Regions from separate parts of the Homo sapiens genome. Here regions 1, 2, 3, 4, 6 and 7 are each linked to region 5. Evidence: promoter capture Hi-C in 16 types of primary human blood cells and fetal thymus (Javierre and others, 2016). All regions are on one chromosome and are shown on one strand. The core of a region is centred on a gene start or on the middle of the fragment in contact, and the rest is flanking DNA. Distances in the headings are between cores, read along the strand shown.

Region 1 (2,871 bases), core at 315-2,814, 440 kb before region 5:
GTTTAATCTCATTCCCAGTCTGTGGCTACGATAGGAACGAGGACTGAAATATATAGAAAGGCAAGTCCTGGGGAAAACATCAAAAGTCTATTTAGGGACTGGGTGCTGTGGCTCATGCCTGTAAACCCAGCAGTTTGGGAGGCTGAGACGGGCAGATCACTTGAGGTCAGGAGTTTGAGACCAACCTGGCCAACATGGTGAAACCCCATCTCTACTAAAATACAAAAATTAGCCAGCCGTGGTGGTGCACGCCTGTAGTCCCAGATACTTGGCAGGCTGAGGCAGGAGAATCATTGGGACCCGGGAGGCGGAGCTTGCAGTGAGCCAAGATCACTCCACTGCACTCCTGCCTGGGCAACAGAGTGAGACTCTATCTCAAAAAAAAAAAAAAAAAAAAAAAAGGATTCTATTTAGGGACATGTTGAGTTGGGGCATGGAGATGTCTAGTAGAGAGTTCTTTATCCACCACTGGACCTCAGGGAGGTGTCACTGCTAAGTGACATGTGTGGGTGTTGGCACAAAGGTGGCCACGGTAATGGGCTCTGTGGGAGGGCAGGGAGTCCTGGCAGAGCATACAGAGTGAGAAGGGGGAGAAGTGATGTCCAAAGCTAGGGACGCCAATGAAGCGACAGAAGAGCCATGCTCACGAGGGTCTCAGGAGAACAGCCATGGACTCTCATAGACCCAGATAACCCAAGTCTAAATGCCGGCTCTGACCAGCAATTGGTCAGGCTGGAGTTCTGGGTGATCAAAGTAGCTGAAAGAAATAAATCTGCCTCCAAGCAAAGACATGCATCTCGCACTCGCCACCGGTGACCTCGAGTGAACTCCATGTGGAGGAGCCTCACACCACCCCTGGTGCTTAAAAGAGCACTGATGGGAGCTGAAATGGCCAGAGTGACTCACCACGATGAGCGCGATCACAGACAGCGTGTAGTAAATAGAATCCCTCAGCAGGCACCAGGAGGAAAGAGCCACAACCTGCAGGACAAGGGAAACAAAGTCAAACAGGATATAGACTGTACAAATGAGATGGCGGGACTCTTGCAGGTTTAGCCAGCTTCCTGTCTAGGCCTCCTGTCCTGCACCCAATCTGCCAATCAATCGGAATTTATTCAAGTATTTAGGCATATTAGTCTGGATCTTCTGAGAGGCAGACATGAAGATACAATTAAACCTGCAACAATTTTGTTAGCGGGAAACAACTGGTGATAGAAAATGGGGCATCGGGGGAGCTGGGCATGCAGCCTGTCCAACTGTGATGCGGGTCTGACCCCCGTGGAGACAGGGATGGTTGGGTGCACTGTCCTAGCTGGCACGCAGTCTGAGGAAGGTGCAGTGAGGCCCAGGGAACCCTCAATGCAAAGTTGCCTATCAGAGGAGTCTCACATCCCCCCAGGAACGGGCCTGCCTTGACATCCCTAATATCAAGGGGATAGGAGGAGCAATCCTAACCTGTGCCTTTGCCATGAGTCTAGCGTCTGCTACAGCCTGTCTTGCCCCGTGGAGTGAGCAACATGTGCTGGGCTGCTGCCGCCCTTCAGAAGGGGTGTGGACAAGCCTGTCTCTGCCAGACCTTCTTCCCTCATCTCTATTATATGCCTGGCCTTGCTGGCATTTGACCTCGGTTTAATCAGAATCTTTGAAAGATTGATTTGCATACTGATCCAGGGGAAAATGTTCTTGGCATTTGGAGATAGCCCTTTTTAAAGAGATGCTGGCTCTGCTGACACGAAGCTGATAGGCACATTGCTGGAGGCTAAAGCAGCCTTTCCCTGCAAGAGGAGGGGGCTGCTAGGTGCAAAGAAGGGCAGAGGAGCCAGGGCTGGAGGTGGTCGGGAGAGTTTGAGGAGAGGGGAAAGAGCTGTGGGTGTCAGGTTGAGGCTTCTGTTCTGGAGAAAGAATCATTTCTCCCAGGAAAGTTCTTCTAAGTCTCTTATTAAGGGATATTTAGTATTTTTATCTGTTTACAGTGTAGGTCCACTTTGGCAGACCTTACAAATAAGTCTGGGAGAGTCCACACACCTTGTTCCAAGGGTTGTCACTGGCAAGTCCCTTTCCCTTCCCTAGAGGAGTATCGACTACCCCATGGCCACAGGATGTTTGCCTGGCTACCTTTGCCCTTGGCGTAGTAAGTGAAAAAAGACACAGCACAAGTCAACACTCTCAGCCGTGGCAATGACAGGCACATGCTACACCAAACACAGTGGGAAAAAGGGACCCCAGGGACATGCAATCCCTGAGCCTCTACCCTCCCCGACTGCTGTGCAAGTCTATAAAGATCAGACCAAGTCAAACTAGAGGTTTTCTGGATGCAAATAACATGAAAGGCATGACTTAAATAGGACCATAAATGAATAACAAGGCCAGTCTCTTTCCATTAACGCATTCCCCACTTCCTATATGAACACTTAGTTATTTCCTGTTGCTAATTTTGCCTTATTAGGTGAAGCATTTGCATTTCTAAGTCACACATGACAGGGTTGTCAAGAAGAGAATTCACATCAGAAAAATCATGTTAGAATAAATATAAAGTATTCTTTACCCTTTTTTCATTCTCTCTCAGTACTGTAAACTCTTAGAATCTGTGGTCATCACTCACCATTTATGCAATAGATTAAATTGGACTAAATTGTTCATTTTCCAGCAGGTCATAAAAGGTTGTATTTATTCACTTTATTATAATCAGACAAATGGGCTTAAAACGTGGCAAATATCAATTTTGAATTTCTTTAACACATTACTTGGACTTTTAGTTAACGACGACAGATTGAGTACATACCATTACCGTTCTTGTTATACCGTAACAAGATAATACTAAAGGGTTTTTTCGATCAGGACATAAACCCACAATGCAAAAGGAATAGAAGA
Region 2 (2,831 bases), core at 136-2,635, 350 kb before region 5:
CAAAGCCCCTGATCTGAATCATACAGCCTCCACTCTCAGTAGACTCCAGGCACTGAAGATGCAGAATTCCCTACCTGTCTGGTCACCATCCCATTCATTCATTCATTTAAAGGTGCCATTTAGTGTGAGAGGGAAATTGGCTCTCAGGTGATAGGAATCAATACAAGGAAAAAGGCTCCGAGGTCTTGGTTGGGTTGCTCAGAAGTAGACCCTCAGATAAGAGTCCATATGCAATGGGGGACCAATAAGGTAGTGGCAAAGGCAAGACAAGGAAGAAGCAGCAGCCAATGAGGGGTGTGATGCCAGGTGACACCTCAGCCTTAGCCTCACCTGCACAGAATGTGGATTGCACCACAGAACTTGAGGCAAAGCAGCTGGACTTTCCTACTACTATACCAATCAATCATTGGTTATTTGACCCCCCACCCCCCGAGAACACAAATTCCCAGGTCGTTCTCACTCTCAGTGCCTCCTGGTGAAGTGGCTCTAGTAGCCTAAGGTAGTTCATTGAAGGTTGTAGGGGTGAAACATTCGTAGCAAAGCACACAGAGCTGCTGGATAGACACACAAACAAGGAAAGAGAATTCATGTGGATCTAATGGAGCCCCAATATATCTTCTACATATGTAAGCGGAGCCTTTGAAATTAAAGCTAAACCTAGACTTACTGGATTCCACAAACCCACAGAGGAGGGACACCTAACCTAGGTCTTAGAGAATGAGAGGATGGAAGCCGGGTGTGTTGGCACACGATGTAATCCCAGCACTTTGGAAGACTAAGGTGGGTGGATCACCTGAGGTCAGGAGTTCAAGACTAGCCTGGCCAACATGGTGAAACCCCATCTCTACTGAACACAAAAATTAGCCAGCAGGGTGGCGCATGCCTGTAATACCAGCTACTTGGGAGGCTAAGGCAGGAGAATTGCTTGAACCCAGGAGGCAAAGGTTGCAGTGAGCTGAGAGTGAGAAGATAATATGGTAGGATTATCTGGAAGAATTGATACCTACATAACATCTGAGAAGATGAACAGGCATTAGCCATTAGGAAGGAAGTGGCAAGGGAACAGAATGAGTAAAAGCATGGTGTCAAAAATTAATGTGGTTTATCTTGAAAACTACAAATTATTCACTGTTGCTAGTATGTAGATTGTGTATGAGGGAGCACAAACAGATGAGACTGGAGGAACAGGTAAAGTTCATTCTAGGAAGGACCATGCTACTTGGATGTATAAGTTCAGGTTATCTGTCTTGAACAGGAATCACTGCTGACTCCACTAGATGAACCTTATCTGATGGTGATAATGAATGAGGTTTTGACAGTAGTGGTGATGATGATGGTGACGATAGTGATTGTGATATGATGATGGTGGAGACAAGGATGATGAAGTTGATCACGGTAATGGTGATGAGGAGGAGATGGTGATCACGATGACAAAGATGTTGGTGATGATGATAGTGATGATGGTGGCATTGATGATGGGACTTCAATCCTGTTTGTGTGACTCCAATCCAAGCCAGAACCCATGAATCTAACCCTGATTGCTTTCAGCAACATGAGAGGAAGCTCAGAATGCCCGTGACCTCTACTGGTTCATCAGATTCTTTCTTCCCTTTTACCCTCTCCCACTTTTCAATGATATTCCCTCCCTACTACTCCTCTAAACCCCAGTGCCATACCCTGTGGGAGTTCTTCTGATCCCAGGTAAACACTGGCTGGCTAGAGGTCCTGTTTGCCAATACTGGGATCTTCCTCTTCAGGCTTACTTGAGAAGTGAGGACAATGACTTCTGTCTAGGTATCTACTGTAAATATTAGATCATTTAAATTTTCTAGAGGCCTTTGAAATTTCAAAACTCATTCAACTGTCTACAAGATGATAGAGCTCTTCACTTCAAGGTTGGTAAGAAACCTACTTCTTGCCTAAAGGTTCTTATTAGTAACCTGAGCCTTTCCGAGGGTTATCACAATAAGGTAGGAATTTTCGTGCCAGTTACAGCAATGTTTATTGCCCAACATTGTGCTTTTAAAAGATACAAGACTGGTTAAAATTATCAAGATTTTTGCATTCTTGCCTTTCTGTCACTTTCTTGTTCTCTCTGCAAACTCAGACTCAGGAGCTGATGGACATTGCTGCTACCAGATAACATCAAACAGTGGAACTGCTGGCCAATCAAGGGCAAGCAACCAGGACTTCCAAAAACAGAATAGGCCTGAGACACAGGACGCCAGCAGGCTCGTAATCTGGCGCCTCTTCAAGCCTATATTCTTTAAATATTTATTCAACATTTATTCTGTGGAGGAGGGAGGAGAAAACTAATCTTCTATTAATAAAAAAGTGTGTATAGAAATAAGCCTCTTACTAATTCATTTCCCCTGGCACAAGCATAGTCAATATTCTGCAAACAATTCTGCAAAATATCTCCCATTTTCCTTTCATTGTTATTTTCTTTCAAGTTTCTTTTGTATGTTTCTCAAGCAGGCAACTTCTTGTGGGTGTATTTGAAGTTTTAATATTTAATATTTAGACAGTGAACACATTTTATTTAACTTGGGTAGCTACCACACACTGTTGAATTTTAAAATCTCAGCTGGCGGGGACAATGTGAGCACCTATGAGATATATGTTATATGCATATTTAGGCTAGCAATAGCAGAAGAAAAAAAGATCCTTCAGGTAGAGGGGATGGCTTTTTGTCTTCAGTTGTGCGGATTAATTTGTCTTCAGTTGTATAATAACTTCTGTCACGTGGAGATCCAAGTTAAGCAACACCATATTTCCAGTTTATTATAATGATGTTTGAGTGCCCATTGTAGATTGGCACCCTGAGAAGG
Region 3 (2,888 bases), core at 19-2,518, 420 kb before region 5:
GAGTGAACATACAAAGGTGCTCCAGGTGATAGTCCTAGATGAGCCCAGTCTTCGAGTCACCCCAATCCAGGTGCCAAACATGTGAGTGAAGAATCTTCCAGATGATTCCAGCCCCAGTCATTCACGTCACCTCCAGCTATTCCAGTATTTCCAGTGGAACAGACACAAGCCATCCCTGCTGTGATTTGTCCAAATTCTTGGCCCACAGAATCACTGAGAAGAATTATGTGGTGGTTGTTTTACATAACTAAGTTTGGGGTTGCTAGTTACACAGCAATAGATACCTGATGCACAAAGATTTGTTTAATTAATTACCCTGATTACTCCTTCTTCATCAACCTACTCACACACCAAATTTTCTGATTCTGTGCTTTAAGCTCAGAGAGACCCTCTAGGATTCATGTCCCTCATCCCCACTTCAGCTTTTTCCTGTGTGTGTTTTAGTTTAAGGATTTCCATACTCTGGATCAATACAACCACATCTTATTTCTGTTCTCTAGAAATTCATTAAAAACTCTAGACTACTCTCGCTATGCATTATTGGTATCTGGGCAATGATGGACTCATCCCTCCCCTTTGTGTATCAGGCTGTTATTTCAACGAGCTTGTAGTCAGGGGAGGTAAGTGTCTGTTCTGAGAACCAGCAGTGAGATTCTTCACAGAAAGAGATAGATCCTCTACTCAAGTTGGGTACATTTTACAGCCATCAGTGAGTTAGAAATAGGCTGTGTCTATGACATAGCATGCACAAATATGAAAAATGTAGTCAAATATCTTTTTCCTAAACATACGCACTGTGAAGATAATTAAATTTCTTCTATCTTGGTTGGATGGTGTTTTATTTGTTGATTGGTTTTTAAATAAAATTTTTGCGGTATCATTTATAAGCAGTGAAATTTATTCATATAAGATGTTGTATACCCCTGCAACCATCACCTCAGTCAAGACATAGAGCATTTCTACCACACAGAAAAGTGTCCCCCCCGGCTTCCAGTCAATCACCTCATCTATCCCCACCCAGCTAACCACAGATTGGATTTCTCTCACTGTAGATTAGTTTTCACTGTTCTAGAACTTCATATAAGTGGAATCATACTGTATACTTTTGTGCTTGCTTCTTTCACTCAGCATATTTTTGAGCTTCATTTAAGTTATGTGTATCAATAATTTTCTCTTTTTTATTGTTGAGCACTATTAGATTTGTTCATTGATTTCCCTATTGATAGATATTTGGAATGTTACTGGTTTTGAGGTATTATTATTATTAAAACTGATATGAACATTTTGGGACAAGCCTTTTGATGAACACTGTAGGAGTGCTTTGGATCTATATATTTTAAAGCCCTTTGTTTCCTCCTTAAATGAACTAGAGTCTCCCCAGCAGAATTTCTGGTGGCCGCTGGGCAACTAGCATCTGTAAATGAGAAGATGCTGGCTCCCAGGAGTGGGAGAGAACGAGCTAATCATATCAAAAGTGGTCTGTGAAAATCAAAGCCAGCATTACTGCACTGGAAAAGTTGACTCAGGCATGCTTTGATAATAAGCATTTCAAAGAGATAGGCAGCTTCCCTTTAAATAGCACATAAACACCACTACCATGGAGCACAAGCTGAAAATGCTTCCCCTTTGACTGGCGATGTCTCAGTATTTAGGAATGGCCATGCCTATAAAAATAAATGCTGAGTAGGGAACTTGAAAAGAAATGGAAGGCACAAGAATTTTTTTTCTTATAAACATGTGAACTATTTTATGGCAGATATAGAAAGAGGTGGGAGGGAGTGTTGGACAACTTCCTTTACAAACAGTAACAGCAGCAGCATTTTATTGAATATTTATGATTGCCAGGCATCATTCTAGGGACTTTCCTCTGCATGCTTTAATTAATGTAATTCTCACACAACTCCTTAAGAAGGGTGCTTGTTATGGGGGGAATTGTGCCTTTCCCCCAGCCCAATTCATAAGTTGTGGTCCTAAACCTCAGTACCTCAGAATGTGACTGTATTTGGAGATAGAGTCTTTAAAGAGGGAACTAACTTAAAGTGAGGTCATTAGGTGGACCCTAATCCAATACTACTGGCATTCTTTTTTTTTTTTTTTTTTTTTTGAGACGGAGTCTCGCTCTGTCGCCCAGGCTGGAGTGCAGTGGCGGGATCTCGGCTCACTGCAAGCTCCGCCTCCCGGGTTCACGCCATTCTCCTGCCTCAGCCTCCCAAGTAGCTGGGACTACAGGCGCCCGCCACTACGCCCGGCTAATTTTTTGTATTTTTAGTAGAGACGGGGTTTCACCGGTTTAGCCGGGATGGTCTCGATCTCCTGACCTCGTGATCCGCCCGCCTCGGCCTCCCAAAGTGCTGGGATTACAGGCGTGAGCCACCGCGCCCGGCCACGACTGGCATTCTTATAAGAATGAATTTGGACACAGATATGTACAAGGTGAAGATCATGTGAAGACACAGGGAGAAGACAGCCATCTACAATGCAAGGAGGAAGGCTTCGGAAGAAGTAAACTCTGCCAATACATTGAGCTTGAACTTCTAGCTTTTAGAAATGTGAAAAAATAAATTTTCATTATTTAAACCACCCAGTTTGTGGTATTTTATTATGTCAGCCCTGGCTGACTAAGAATATGCTACATAAAGTTGTCTCCATTTTACAGATGTGGAAAGCCAAAGATCATGGTAAACTGATAAATCTGCACATGCCCAGCAATGGAGCCAGCTGAATGACTCAAAAGTCCATGCTTACATGCATTTTATTAAAAAAACTATTTTTCTCAAGTAGTAAAAATAAAATGGAAAGTTGTCCGTATCTTGTAGGAGCTTACAACTCGCTGTGAAGGCAAATTTCTGCATAGGAGGCAAAGTCTACATGGTCCAGTTCTTGAATTC
Region 4 (3,086 bases), core at 30-2,529, 320 kb before region 5:
GCCCAAATTAGCATATTTAAAGTTTGTGAGAAACCCTGCATTTAGAAAATACATAGTAAGTTAGCATTTCTTAAACACTTGATTAAGAGATCCTCATTTTCTATACAATACCTATACAATACCTATCATTCTTTCACTAGTGTCCTGAGAAAACAGTTTGGAAAATGCTGGTCTAGATCTACAAATAAGCCTTGGTTTCCAATCTGTACCTTATACACTTGCTAAGGAGCCTCAACTTACTAAAGCAGTCAGGGGTCTCTACACATAGATGTAGGAATAGCTAAAAATACTTTTTGGGGCCAGGCATGGTGGCTCAGGCCTGTAATTCCAGTACTTTGGGAGGCAGGTGGATCACGAGGTCAGGAGCTTGAGACCAGCCTGACCAACATGGGGAAACCTTGTCTCTACTAAAAATACGAACAAATTAGCCAGGCGTGGTGATACATGCCTGTAATCCCAGCTACTCAGGAGGCTGAGGCAGGAAGATCACGTGAATCTGGGAGATAGAGGTTGCAGTGAGCCAAGATCGTGCCACTGCACTCCAGCCTGGGTGACAGAGCGAGACTCCGTCACAAAACAAAACAAAACAAAAAAACAACAACAGAAAAGCCTTTTTGGATGTCAAACAGGACTCTCCACACTTAAAAGAGATTGAGGATTGCCTCTCTTGGTCTCAGATTGCCTGTTGCTTTTTGCAGTTGTACCTGTGAGGCCAGTGGACTGGCCACAGGTAGGCAGGATATAAAACCCTCCCTGGAAAGGGCTGTAATAAAACCAGTGCTGGCTCCAGAGAGTAGACAAACCACACGGCAGTAACTGCCAACATTCTATATTTACAGAAAACTGGCACTTCACAAATACCAAGCTTTGCTATTTATGTAGCTGTTTTTCATCAATATATGTGGGGATTCTGTAATTATCACAAGTGCTATTCAAAGGCTTCCGGAATCTCAGACAAATGAGCATAACAGATAGAGTCAACTGAACCCTGCAAACACCACTGCCCCAGGGCTTCTGTTCTTTTATGCAGCCTTGTTGCTCAGATGAGAATGAAGAACCAGGACAGGGCTAAGGCCAAAGCTACAACAAGGCTTTATCCCGGTAGCTCTTCTTTTGAGATGTGGGACAGCTGGGGGAAGGCAGCTGGTCTACCTGTCTTCATCTACTCCATCTTACAGCCAGCAAAATCTTTCCAAGATATAGATATGGTTGGGTCAACTCCTTGCTTGATCAAATCCCCTTAATGGCTTTCAATGCTGCTGGGATAAAATCTAAACTCCTTAGGCACTGGAGACCCTCAAAGATCTAAGTCTCTCTCCTGCCCAAGCTCTTGCCATCTCCCATCTTGACCCAACCATGCCAGCCACAGTGAGTGCCCTATATTTATAAGCACAGGTGCTTGGTGTTCTCTCTCCCCTCTGCCTCTGCATAGTGTCTCGCTGCCTGGGATACCCTTCCTTGACCCCTTCACCTGGCTCCACATAGGTATTGCCTCTTCTTCTAAGGTTGCTGTGGCAGATGGTTTTCAAAGACGGCCATGGAATTATCACTGCATCCCACCTGCTCTTCTGCAGTGTGACCTTGCAACTCCTCTTACATCTGGGCATGCGGGAGTGATGGTGGGCCAGTTTCAGGGGTAGCCACGAAATACCCAGCAGCCCCTGCTTTCTGCCTCTTGGAGATTCAAGCTTCTGCGTAAACCATTCAGCCTCCTCTGTTAGAGAGAGAAGCCACCTGGAGAAGCATAGAGACACTAGCTGTGTGAATGGGGCCATCATGGATGTTCAGCCCCATAGAGCATTCACATGACTTTAGCTCCAGCTGTTGTCTGACTGCAAGTGCATGAGAGACCTGAAGCAGGAGCCACCCAGCTGAGTGCAGTCAACCGATAGACCCAGGACTGATAACAAATTGTTTTAATCCATTAAATACTGGGTGTTTTGTAATGCAGCAGTAGATATCCAGAAAGGTAGCTCATGCTGTGCCCAAGAAGAATCAGGCAGTTCTGAAATTCAGCTAATATGTGTTGGTTTGGCTGAACTGGATGTTGACAGCTGATATCTGTCTGCTTGATCAGCGTCTCTGTTGCCTCCAGTTATTAAATATCTTGAATGACATCCCAATCAGGGGGCTGCCAATGTGCTCTCTCAATAGCCTGTGCTGACCTCTTTATACCAATTAATATCCTATCTTTCAGCTGTGGCAAGTTACCCTACTTCTGTGACTTTCAGGTCTCTATGGTACCTAGCTCTGAGGGTTGCCAGGGTGGAATAAGACGGTGTGTGGAACACCGAGCACAGTGTCTGGTGCAAGTGCTCCATGGGCAGAGTCTTTCAGCTCTGAACGTGTCACCTACCACTGAGCTCCCCATTCTGCAGACACTCAGGAGTGCTTGCCAAAGGTAGCAAAACGGATGCTTGGTTTTGATCCTCTGTTGTCTGCCCTTTTCCAGAAGATGAACTCAGGTGAATGGCTTGATGGGAGGCTCTGCCATAGCTACCCCAGGAATTCTCCTCCAGGAGAGACAGCCGGGCTCATTTCCAAGATGGGGCCCCACTGTGGTGGTGACTCCATGAACCACAGTGGACTTGGGCACCAGAGGCTGAGACAGTCCTGGGGATGCAATGCCCCTTGTGGATGAGGGAGCAGTGAGGGCAGACCCAAGCACTCAGGGGTCTGGACATGGAGGGCTGCGGGGCCTTCCGCAAGTATCCAGCCCTGCTTTGTGCTTGACTTGAGGCTGGCTGATTGGGCCCTGAGGGCAGAGCCATAGTCCTTGTCTCTATCCATGGTCCCCTGGCTGCATACAGGAATCAAGGAACGTTGTTCTTAGATCCGTCGTCTAGATCAAAAGCTGAGAAAACTGATCAAACAACATGTCCACTGCTCAAGGCTGGACTTCCTTCTAAGCCATTGCCATGGGAAGAGGGCTGCCCTCCCCACCACTGGAACACTGGAGCCCCATAGCCTGGAGTCAACCCCCAGTTCCACCATTCGTGAGCTGCATGCCTTGGGCAAGTTGCTTAATTTCTCTGTGCCTCAGTTTCCTCACCTCTAACATGGAGGAGATAATACTTCTGTCATGG
Region 5 (3,248 bases), core at 375-2,874:
ATGGAGAGAGCCGTGGAGTCTTGAACAGCTTCACTGAAGACCAAGACGGACTCTCTGCTATTACCATAAATGATGAAGTCTGTCAAGCGGTCTGCTAAGACTGAATGAAGACTGACGCCTGTTTCACTTCCCCACCAAGCAGGAGACCAGCCAAGCTGGGGGAGATCCCTTTTTAAATTCATGGCACCTTTGAAAATATTTTACGGTGACTATCAAAATGTCTTTATTCTGCACCTCATGACATCTTGCATTAGAGCTACGTCGACCTCAACACCACAGCACATACTTGTAACTGTTTTTTTGTTTGTTTGTTTTGTTTTGTTTTGTTTCTTTCTCACAACCCTTTACATGGCTGTTTTCCCACTAATCGTGCCACTTCCACGGCCGGGATATAAAACCATTTTACAACAGTTATTCTCCCATGTTTTTCCTTCATTTTATAGACAGCTGAATCCCAGGATCGAAGCTGTTTCAGCAGACAACTGTTGGGAGCACACAAGATCTATTTCAGCTCAAGAAAGGCCAAGGACAAAGACAAGACAAAAGTTGTGGGTTAAAGGGCAGACTTTGCGCAGAGCACCGGTAGAGGAGCGGACAGTGTGATGCGTGGTCCACTGCAAACCATTTCTTCCACAGCAGCAGCTCTGCAAAAGGGACCTCTGAGGAAGAATTCCCTGTCTTCCCAGTGAGTGGTCATTTTAGGAGAACAAGTCCCCTACTAGCCCATAGCTGGAGGGCCAACACTTTTTCTCTCCCTGAAGTTCCCGGCACCTGTTCTGAAAGGGGGTTGAAGAGCTCTCTACTCGGGCCATCCCGCCTGCTCTCTGGATGGAGAACATACGGACAACTGTGTGTTAAGCAGTCCCCTTGAATCCTTCAGCAAGCCAAGGAGTATACAGGTGGTCACCTGCACAGGTGCCGGGTCTACCACCACAACTTTATCCCTGGCCTTGGGGGCTGATGGAGAGTAAGACTCCCCACCACCGCCACCAGCAGTACCTCCAGCTCGCGAGTAAGCAGCGCACAGGCGGGCACAGGTAAATGTTCCCAGGGCGGCCAGACGCCTAAGCCTGCTGGCTGCTGGCGCTCAGGGTCCCCACCTCCATGCCTCTGCGTGGGGCAGGGGGAGTCCTCGTGCCTGGCATCCCACTCCCCCCGCCAACCCAGCCCGCTTATCCTGGGGCTCCGGCCGGGCCGCCCGAAGGAGCCCCGCGCCCAGCCCCGGGAGCCCCGAGCCGCCGGAGCCGCAGCGCCCACTCGGGGCAGGCAGCGTGCACTCACCCTTCTGCTCTCGCAGGCTCGACAGCGACCAGAGCAGCAGCGCCACCGAGGCCAGGAAGCAGAGCTGGCTCAGCAGAAGGTCCCTCCGGCGGCGGCGGCGGCGGCGGCGACGCGCGCGGTCCTCGTCGCCGGACGGCCGCATCCTCGGGCGGCCGGGCGGCGGCCTCGGCGGGCGGCGGCCGCTCCTGTCGCGGGCGGCCGCGGCGGGGACAGCGGCAGGAGGCAGCCCTGCGCGCAGCAGCCGCGCGTCCTCGCTGCGCTCCCACCCGGCCGCCGCCTCCGCCTCCTCTTCCTCCTCCTCGCCGCTGCCCGTCTCCTCGTCGTCGCCCTCCTCGTCGCTATCGCCCAGTCCCTCCTCCCCTCCCTCCTCCTCCTCCTCGCCGCTCGCCCGCGCCGCCGCCTCCCGGCGCTCGGGGTCCCGCTCCTCCTCGCGCGCCATGGCTCCCACGCTCCGCGCCCGCGCTCGGCCTGGGGCGGCGGCGCGGCGGGGGCGGCGGGGGCGGCCGGGAGGCGGGGGCGGAGGGGGCAGAGGAGGAGGAGCGGGGAAGGACCGACGGTAGGAGGGCCCGCCGCTGGCCAACTCCGCCGGTTGGCAAAGCCACCCCGGACTGGCTCTGGCCTCGCCGGCTGCAGGAGCGCCTCGCGGGGCCGCCCGCCTATTCCATGGTCGGCGCGATGGGGGCCGGGGCCGGGCCGGAGCGAACAGGGAGCACCGAGCGAGCTGGGAGCATGAGCTAGCGCAGCTCCCGGCAGCCTGCAGCGGCGAGGCTGGTCGGGCCAGGGTTGGCGGGGGGCAGTGCCTGGGACACAGCCCGGCGCTGGCCGGCATGGCGGGGAGGGGGCGCGCTGGGAGGAGACTGGGCTGGGGAGGGATCCCTGTGTGCAGTCCTTCAACCCTTCTGTGCCAGGGGAAGAGGGACGGCGCAGGGGGCCCCCTCTCGGGAAGCACACACGCTGCCTCCCAGAGGCCGATCTTCACCAAGAAGGATTCGCTGGAAACTTTCGGAAAACCGAGGGGCTCTTCAGCCTCCTCTCTACGTGCTACCTGGAGTCGGGGCGCCGCGAGTGCGCTTGGCTGCCCGCGCCCAGCCTCTGGCCTCGCCTCTTCTCGCGGGCCTCCCGGGTTTCCCTCTGCCCCCTTGCGGGGATCCCCCTGTGCGCCCGACTCGGGATCTGGAACAGGCCTCCCCAGAGGCTGTTAGTTCCATAAGGGTGTCCGGCTCCCCCCTCTGTCTTGGGCTCACACTTCGCTTTCTGTTCGTGCTGGACCAAGTCCAATACTGTGGCTGATCGAAGTGGGGACAGCTGGCACGGTCCCTGGAGAGGCGGCCTGAAGAGGCTTCTGGCCTTGTGCAGGTAACACCAGCCTGCCCTACCTCCAACGTTAGAATCTTAGTCCTCCCATTTCCCCCATTCTAGGTCTCCTGCCCCTCCTTGCTGAAGGTGTGGGCTGCCCTAGAGATGGCTGGACTCACGACCTGCCGCAGGTGCCCATTTGGAGGGGATCCCTGGCCATCCCAGACACAGCCCACTCTCCCTCATTGGGCTTCCCTGGACTCTTCCCAGATGCTAGCCTGGGGCTGCTGGCTGGGCTGAGGAGGAGATGCCATTGTTGGGGCGGAGGGTGGGGGGGCGCTGAAAACAAAAGACCTTGTCCAGAAAGGGATCACCTGAAACCAGGTGTCTGTCTAGGTGACTGTCTCCATGGAATCCATTCAGATCAGGGAATCTAGCTTCATACCCTAAGGAGGTGGGAAGGAAGCAGAGAACCTCTGTATAAGGCTCCCCTGTCTAGGTCTGTTCAAATGTGTCCCCACCTGTGACTGACCTACCCCCCCCGACCTCCTCCCAGACAATCCCTGACAGCGCCCGGGGACAGCAAGGTCACAGCAAAGGGCAAAGGAAGTGGTTATAGGTGGCCTCCTTTCCAGAGAAAGGCCATCTCACCCAGGGAGACCAGAGACTTT
Region 6 (3,241 bases), core at 508-3,007, 400 kb before region 5:
AGGCACTCAACAAACATTGAATGGATGAAAGAAAGAGTAGGCGTTTGGCCCATGGTTCTTCTGCCCAACGGAGAACTCGGGGCATCTGCAGGAAATGGTTTGCTTCTTTCCTTCCTCCTATGTATCAAAAAGGCCCTAAAGGGGGTTCTCAGCTGCCTAAGTAGCACCTTGGACAGAAGCAGGTTTGGGCTCTTGGCTGAAGAGCCCAGAAGGGGAATGAGAGGTGGGAGGCCTACTGACATCCCTAAGGGAGTGGCTCATCATTGCTGGTCGAAACTCCTAAATGGCCCCTAGATCTTCCCATGTCCTCCAGATGATTAGACACTTCCTGGAACCCATTTTCTTGGGGGTGATTTTGACCATGGAAACTTTTCATTCATAGTCCAAGTGCCTACTGTTTGGGTGGCCCCAGCATTGGTGGGCAGATCTAGGTTAGCCGTCTCAGATGGACAGTTGGCCTGAGAACTGGGAGGTCACAGCATTTGTTAAAAAATTGTCAAGCACTCACCCCACCTCCCCTAACATGTTGTCCCCTGCCTAAGTGTTTGTGAGTGTTCAGAGGTCCTGAATGACTCTGTCTAGAGGGCTGTAAAGCACACGTGGCAGGCATGGAGAGGTGACACACAAACTCCCTGCAAGGAAGGATCTGCTGTCCAGCTGCAGAGGGATGTGGCCATCAGGTGGCTTCAAGCTGTTGGCTCCACTGGGCTGGGTCAGCCTCAGCTGCAGAGAGCTACCTCGCCCACATCACACCCTTCCTGGAAGGCCCACATCCACTGACACAGAGGCAGTGGTATACATTCCTGGCAGTTTGGTTCCAGGATGAACCATATTTGTTCCAGAACTCTTTGTCAGCTTGGCTGGGACTCTGGTGAGCCTGCATCATGGCTTGACTTCATCTTCCTCTCCTTTCCTTTCACAGGCATTGTATTAGTTAGGGGTCTCAGAGGGACAGCACCAATAGGATCTATGTACCTATAGAAGGAGTTTATTAGGGAGAATTGGCTCAGATAATTACAAGGTGAAGTCCCACCATAGGCTGTCTGCAAGCTGGGGAAGAGAGAAGCCAGTAGTGGCTCAGTCTGAGTCCAAAAGCCTCAAAAGCAGGGAAGCCAACAGTGTAGCCTTCAGTCTGTGGGCAAAGGTCTGAGAGTCCCCAGGAAGCCACTGGTGCAAGTCTCAGAGTCCAAAGGCCAAAGAACCTGGAGTCTGATGTCCAAGGGCAGGAGGAACAGAAGCAAGGGTCCAGTGTGGGAAGAATAAAAGAGCCAGAAGACTCAGCAAGCAAAGCTATCCCCTCTTGTTCTGCCTGTTTTGTTCTGGTGCTGGTAGCTGATTGGAACATGGGAGTGGATTTCTCATGAATGGTTTAGCATCATCCGTTTGGTGCTGTTCTCGTGATAGTGAGTGAATTTTTTAGAGATCTGGTTGTTTGAAAGTGTGTAGCACCTCCTGCCTTGCTCTCTCTTGCTCCTGCTCTGGCCGTGTGATATGCCTGCTTTCCCTTCACCTTCCGTCACCATTGTAAGCTTCCTGAGGCCTCTCCAGAAACAGAACAGATGCCAGCATTATGTTTCCTGTACAGTCTGCAGAATGCGAGCCAATTAAAACTATTTTCTTTATAAATTACCCAGTCTCAGCTATTTAGTTATAGCAATTTGAGAATGGACTAACATAGGTATTGATTAAAAAATATCTTGCACTCAAAACTCTGTCTTCGTGTCTGCTTCCAGAGAACCCAACTGGTGACAGCATTTAATTAATTCATTTACAACTTCCGGACTCTGATTTGATCCCTCCATGATATATATATTTTTAAATGACTCTCCTCTTCCCCCACCAAAAACATAAGAAAATCTGAACCAAATAACAACAAAACCAATGGGAGAAGGAATCAAACCACTTGGTGGTTAAGATGCTTTACCCTTACAGATCTGTTTAAGGATGAAGCTAAAGACCACATAGTCTGTAAAATTAAAGCTTAAAAGATTACGGCTTTAACAAAAAGATTATGGTTTGGATGATGAGCAAACAGAAGAGATTCACTAATCACAGTGCACACATACCCACACACACACGTCCCACCAGCAAATTTCAATTTGGGTTGTTAAACGCTAACCCAGTGGATCATTCATCTTCCTTCTAATCCAGCCTCATTATTGATTACCAGTCTTAGTGTTCTTAGCAGAGTGATCCAGGTCAAGGATCCACTTAGGAAAAGAGGCAAAGTCACAGCAGCTGTAGAGTCAGTGGCATTTTAACTTGAATCCACATGGCAACAACAGAGGCCTCAGTGTCACCGAGTGCACTCTCCCAACGCTACAATTTGGGCTGCGTCTTTGGTTAATAAGAACCTGCTGTGCAATGGCACTTGCTCTTCCAGTGCCCACAGTCCATCTTTGTGGCCCAGAATAACATGTGCTAAGTGGGCAAGAACGGTGGAATGGGATCCAAAGCGATCTTTGCCAGGTTCTGTGGTAAAAACTAATATCTGGAGGAAGGAGAATCAATGGGCCTGTGGCACTAAGGGACAGCTTCCAGGAGAGGATGGGCTGGGGCCCAGCCCTGCATGAAGCACATTCTAGGAGAAAGATATTGCATGTCCAAGAGCATAATAACAGGTCATTTTTACTGAGTACTTTCTATATAGCTGGTGCCATTCTAAGTACTCTGAGTGTATTAACTCATTTAGTTAATGCAATTACTCCATGAGGTAAAGCTATTATTATTAATCCATTTTACAGTTGAGGAAACTGAGGCACAGAGAATTTAATTAATTTGCTCAACTTCATACAGATAGCAAATGGTAAAGATAGATTTTAGTCCCAACAGTCTGGCTGTAAATCTCAAGCTCTTAATCACACTCTCAATTGCAATCTCTTAAAGATTCCAGATGCAAACTGTCCCACCCTCATCACACTGTTGAAACTGCTCATCAGATCTGTGGATATACACAACTGGGAGGCAGAGCCAGCCCCCGCATAAGAGAATCAAGATTTAAAAGGATGTCAACAGTCTGCGCCAGGACAAACAAGGGTGGTGTAAGCGGGTTGAACGCAAAGAATTTCACATCTTAATATAGAACAGGGTGGTGCATGGGAAAAATACATGGAGACTGGAGCTGTTCAAACATTCCCATGAGTCAAGGGTGAGCATCAACAGCTACGCAAACCAAGGAAGCCTTCATCTGGGTGAAAAGGTTTTTCATGTGATGGGGAAGAGGTGGGCATCTCTCCATGCT
Region 7 (2,967 bases), core at 267-2,766, 470 kb before region 5:
GGGTGTCATTTGTAGTTCATAAGACACGAAGCGTAGAATTAGAACACCACTATTTTGCAACCCAAACGAAATAATGGATGCAGACACTGAGCACTGATGGCTGCCAACACTACAGACAGAGAAAGGCAGACATCACCATGCCTCCTGGTGATGGAACCTGAATGCTGACGGCTGCCAACACTACAGACAGAGAAAGGCAGACCTCACCGTGCCTCCTGGTGATGGAACTTTACCACCACTTGGGACATAGTCTAGCCTGAATCAGATCAATTACAGACATATAGGAAACACATAGGCCAAGGGAACAGATTGCACCACAGCATGGGATATAATCAACAGTTTCCAACCATGGGCAACTCTGCAGAGCAAACAGCCAAACTTCATCAAAGAACAAAGTGCAAGGAAAATGCACACACACACACATGCACATACAGACACACAGAGACACACAGACACACACAGACACACACAGAGACACACACAGACACACACACAGACACAGACACACACTCGCACACACAGACACATACAGACACACACACAGACACACAGCACACAGACACACACAGATGCCCAGTCATGCACACACATACACACACAGACAACACACAGACACAGAGGCCAAGGGAACAGACTGTGCCACATCATGGGATATAATCAACGCTTTCCAACCGTGGGCAACTCTGCAGAGCAAACAGCCAAACTTCATTAAAGAACAAAGTGCAAGGAAAATGCACACACACACATGCACACACATACAGACACAGCAGCAAGTCATGGGCCACCAATTCTAATGAGTGGAATTTATTTGAATTCTCATTTTTAAAATATTTATGATATTTATGAAACTAAAAGAAAACAATGAAAAAGACATTTGTGAGGCCACTGAAAATTTGAACATTAGGTATTTTATGATATTAAGGAATTAGTATTAATTTTACGTATGACGATAATGTGGTTATGTTAAAGAAAATAGTCCTTTTAGAATCCTAAAAGAGTGAGTCTCCCTCTCCCTCTCCCTCTCCCCACGGTCTCCGTCTCCGTCTCCCTCTCCCTCTCCCTCTCCCTCTCCCCCTCCCCACGGTCTCCCTCTCCCCACGGTCTCCCTCTCCGTCTCTTTCCACGGTCTCCCTCTGATGCCGAGCCGAAGCTGGACTGTACTGCTGCCATCTCGGCTCACTGCAACCTCCCTGCCTGATTCTCCTGCCTCAGCCTGCGGAGTGCCTGCGATTGCAGGTGCGTGCCGCCACGCCTGACTGGTTTTCGTATTTTTTTGGTGGAGACGGGGTTTCGCTGTGTTGGCCGGGCTGGTCTCCAGCTCCTAACCGCGAGTGATCCGCCAGCCTCGGCCTCCGGAGGTGCTGGGATTGCAGACGGTGTCTGGTTCACTCAGTGCTCAATGGTGCCCAGGCTGGAGTGCAGTGGCGTGATCTCGGCTTGCTACAACCTCCACCTCCCAGCCGCCTGCCTTGGCCTCCCAAAGTGCCCAGAGTGCAGCCTCTGCCCGGCCGCCACCCTGTCTAGGAAGTGAGGAGCGTCTCTGCCTGGCCGCCCATCGTCTGGGATGTGAGGAGCCCCTCTGCCTGGCTGCCCAGTCTGGAAAGTGAGGAGCGTCTCTGCCCGGCCGCCATCCCATCTAGGAAGTGAGGAGCGTCTCTGCCCGGCCTCCCATCGTCTGAGATGTGGGGAGCGCCTTTGCCCCGCCGCTCCGTTTCGGATGTGAGGAGAGCCTCTGCCCGGCCGCGACCCCGTCTGGGAGGTGAGGAGCGTCTCTGCCCAGCCGCCCCATCTGAGAAGGGAGGAGACCCTCCGCCCGGCAACCGCCCCGTCTGAGAAGTGAGGAGCCCCTCCGCCCGGCAGCCGCCCCGTCTGAGAAATGAGGAGCCCCTCCGCCCGGCAGCCACCCCGTCTGGGAAGTGAGGAGCGTCTCCGCCCGGCAGCCGCCGTGTCCGGGAGGGAGGTGGAGGGTCAGCCCCCCGCCCGGGGCCAGCCGCCCCGTCCGGGAGGTGAGGGGCGCCTCTGCCCAGCCGCCCCTACTGGGAAGTGAGGAGCCCCTCTGCCCGGCCAGCCGCCCCGTCCGGGAGGGAGGTTGGGGGGTCAGCCCCCCGCCCGGCCAGCCGCCCCGTCCGGGAGGGAGGTGGGGGGTCAGCCCCCCGCCCGGCCAGCCGCCCCGTCCGGGAGGTGAGGGGCGCCTCTGCCTGGCCGTCCCTACTGGGAAGTGAGGAGCCCCTCTGCCCGGCCAGCCGCCCCGTCCGGGAGGGAGGTGGGGGGGGTCAGCCCCCCGCCCGGCCAGCCGCCCCGTCTGGGAGGTGAGGGGTGCCTCTGCCCGGCCGCCCCTACTGGGAAGTGAGGAGCCCCTCTGCCCGGCCACCACCCCGTCTGGGAGGTGTGCCCAACAGCTCATTGAGAACGGGCCAGGATGACAATGGCGGTTTTGTGGAATAGAAAGGGGGGAAAGGTGGGGAAAAGATTGAGAAATCGAATGGTTGCCGTGTCTGTGTAGAAAGAAGTAGACATGGGAGACTTTTCATTTTGTTCTGTACTAAGAAAAATTCTTCTGCCTTGGGATCCTGTTGATCTGTGACCTTACCCCCCAACCCTGTGCTCTCTGAAACATGTGCTGTGTCCACTCAGGGTTAAATGGATTAAGGGCGGTGCAAGATGTGCTTTGTTAAACAGATGCTTGAAGGCAGCATGCTCGTTAAGAGTCATCACCACTCCCTAATCTCAAGTACCCAGGGAGGCAAACACTGCGGAAGGCCTCAGGGTCCTCTCCCTAGGAAAACCAGAGACCTTTGTTCACTTGTTTATCTGCTGACCTTCCCTCCACTATTGTCCTACGACCCTGCCAAATCCCCCTCTGTGAGAAACACCCAAGAATGATCAATAAAAATAAAAATGAAAATTAAAAAAAAAAAAAAAAAAAAGAAAAAAAAAAGAATCCTAAAAGAGTATCCAGCTGTGTCT

The links. Contacts are between HindIII fragments. The CHiCAGO score rates a contact against its expected background, and 5 or more counts as called.
Region 1: a contact is called between a fragment that was not itself captured here and the fragment with the promoter of SLC24A3 in region 5, in 12 of 17 cell types (megakaryocytes, M0 macrophages, fetal thymus and 9 more). The highest score is 10.9, in megakaryocytes.
Region 2: a fragment that was not itself captured here is called in contact with the fragment with the promoter of SLC24A3 in region 5 in 6 of 17 cell types (M2 macrophages, M0 macrophages, megakaryocytes and 3 more); the score reaches 17.5 in M2 macrophages.
Region 3: a contact is called between a fragment that was not itself captured here and the fragment with the promoter of SLC24A3 in region 5, in 3 of 17 cell types (M0 macrophages, megakaryocytes and M1 macrophages). The highest score is 7.8, in M0 macrophages.
Region 4: a contact is called between a fragment that was not itself captured here and the fragment with the promoter of SLC24A3 in region 5, in 4 of 17 cell types (M0 macrophages, M2 macrophages, M1 macrophages and 1 more). The highest score is 7.6, in M0 macrophages.
Region 6: a contact is called between a fragment that was not itself captured here and the fragment with the promoter of SLC24A3 in region 5, in 5 of 17 cell types (M1 macrophages, M2 macrophages, M0 macrophages and 2 more). The highest score is 11.7, in M1 macrophages.
Region 7: a fragment that was not itself captured here is called in contact with the fragment with the promoter of SLC24A3 in region 5 in 7 of 17 cell types (M2 macrophages, M0 macrophages, M1 macrophages and 4 more); the score reaches 7.8 in M2 macrophages.

What each region holds. Positions count from the first base shown.
Region 1 is chr20:19,652,172-19,655,042 of GRCh38, reverse strand. It overlaps SLC24A3 (solute carrier family 24 member 3), which reads right to left. Exons shown (of 17, transcript NM_020689.4): 7 at 907-981. Among named protein-coding and RNA genes, the nearest start is that of RIN2, 100 kb to the left of the region's middle. The HindIII fragment of the contact is 6,105 bases long and covers 1-2,871 here.
Region 2 is chr20:19,563,004-19,565,834 of GRCh38, reverse strand. All of the region lies in intron 3 of SLC24A3 (solute carrier family 24 member 3), which reads right to left. Among named protein-coding and RNA genes, the nearest start is that of RIN2, 190 kb to the left of the region's middle. The HindIII fragment of the contact is 3,670 bases long and covers 1-2,831 here.
Region 3 is chr20:19,632,865-19,635,752 of GRCh38, reverse strand. The region is part of intron 6 of SLC24A3 (solute carrier family 24 member 3); the gene reads right to left. Among named protein-coding and RNA genes, the nearest start is that of RIN2, 120 kb to the left of the region's middle. The HindIII fragment of the contact is 4,252 bases long and covers 1-2,888 here.
Region 4 is chr20:19,531,916-19,535,001 of GRCh38, reverse strand. The region is part of intron 3 of SLC24A3 (solute carrier family 24 member 3); the gene reads right to left. Among named protein-coding and RNA genes, the nearest start is that of RIN2, 220 kb to the left of the region's middle. The HindIII fragment of the contact is 823 bases long and covers 868-1,690 here.
Region 5 is chr20:19,211,018-19,214,265 of GRCh38, reverse strand. It overlaps SLC24A3 (solute carrier family 24 member 3), which reads right to left and starts at 1,624. Exons shown (of 17, transcript NM_020689.4): 1 at 1,282-1,624. The coding sequence starts at 1,423. LOC101929547 (a long non-coding RNA gene) reads left to right here and starts at 1,798. Exons shown (of 3, transcript XR_007067549.1): 1 at 1,798-2,637. RefSeq lists a silencer at 1,224-1,273. The HindIII fragment of the contact is 7,870 bases long and covers 1-3,248 here.
Region 6 is chr20:19,613,748-19,616,988 of GRCh38, reverse strand. The region is part of intron 6 of SLC24A3 (solute carrier family 24 member 3); the gene reads right to left. Among named protein-coding and RNA genes, the nearest start is that of RIN2, 140 kb to the left of the region's middle. The HindIII fragment of the contact is 451 bases long and covers 1,532-1,982 here.
Region 7 is chr20:19,677,647-19,680,613 of GRCh38, reverse strand. The region is part of intron 9 of SLC24A3 (solute carrier family 24 member 3); the gene reads right to left. Among named protein-coding and RNA genes, the nearest start is that of RIN2, 79 kb to the left of the region's middle. RefSeq lists enhancers at 1,051-2,027, 2,028-2,967. The HindIII fragment of the contact is 4,096 bases long and covers 1-2,967 here.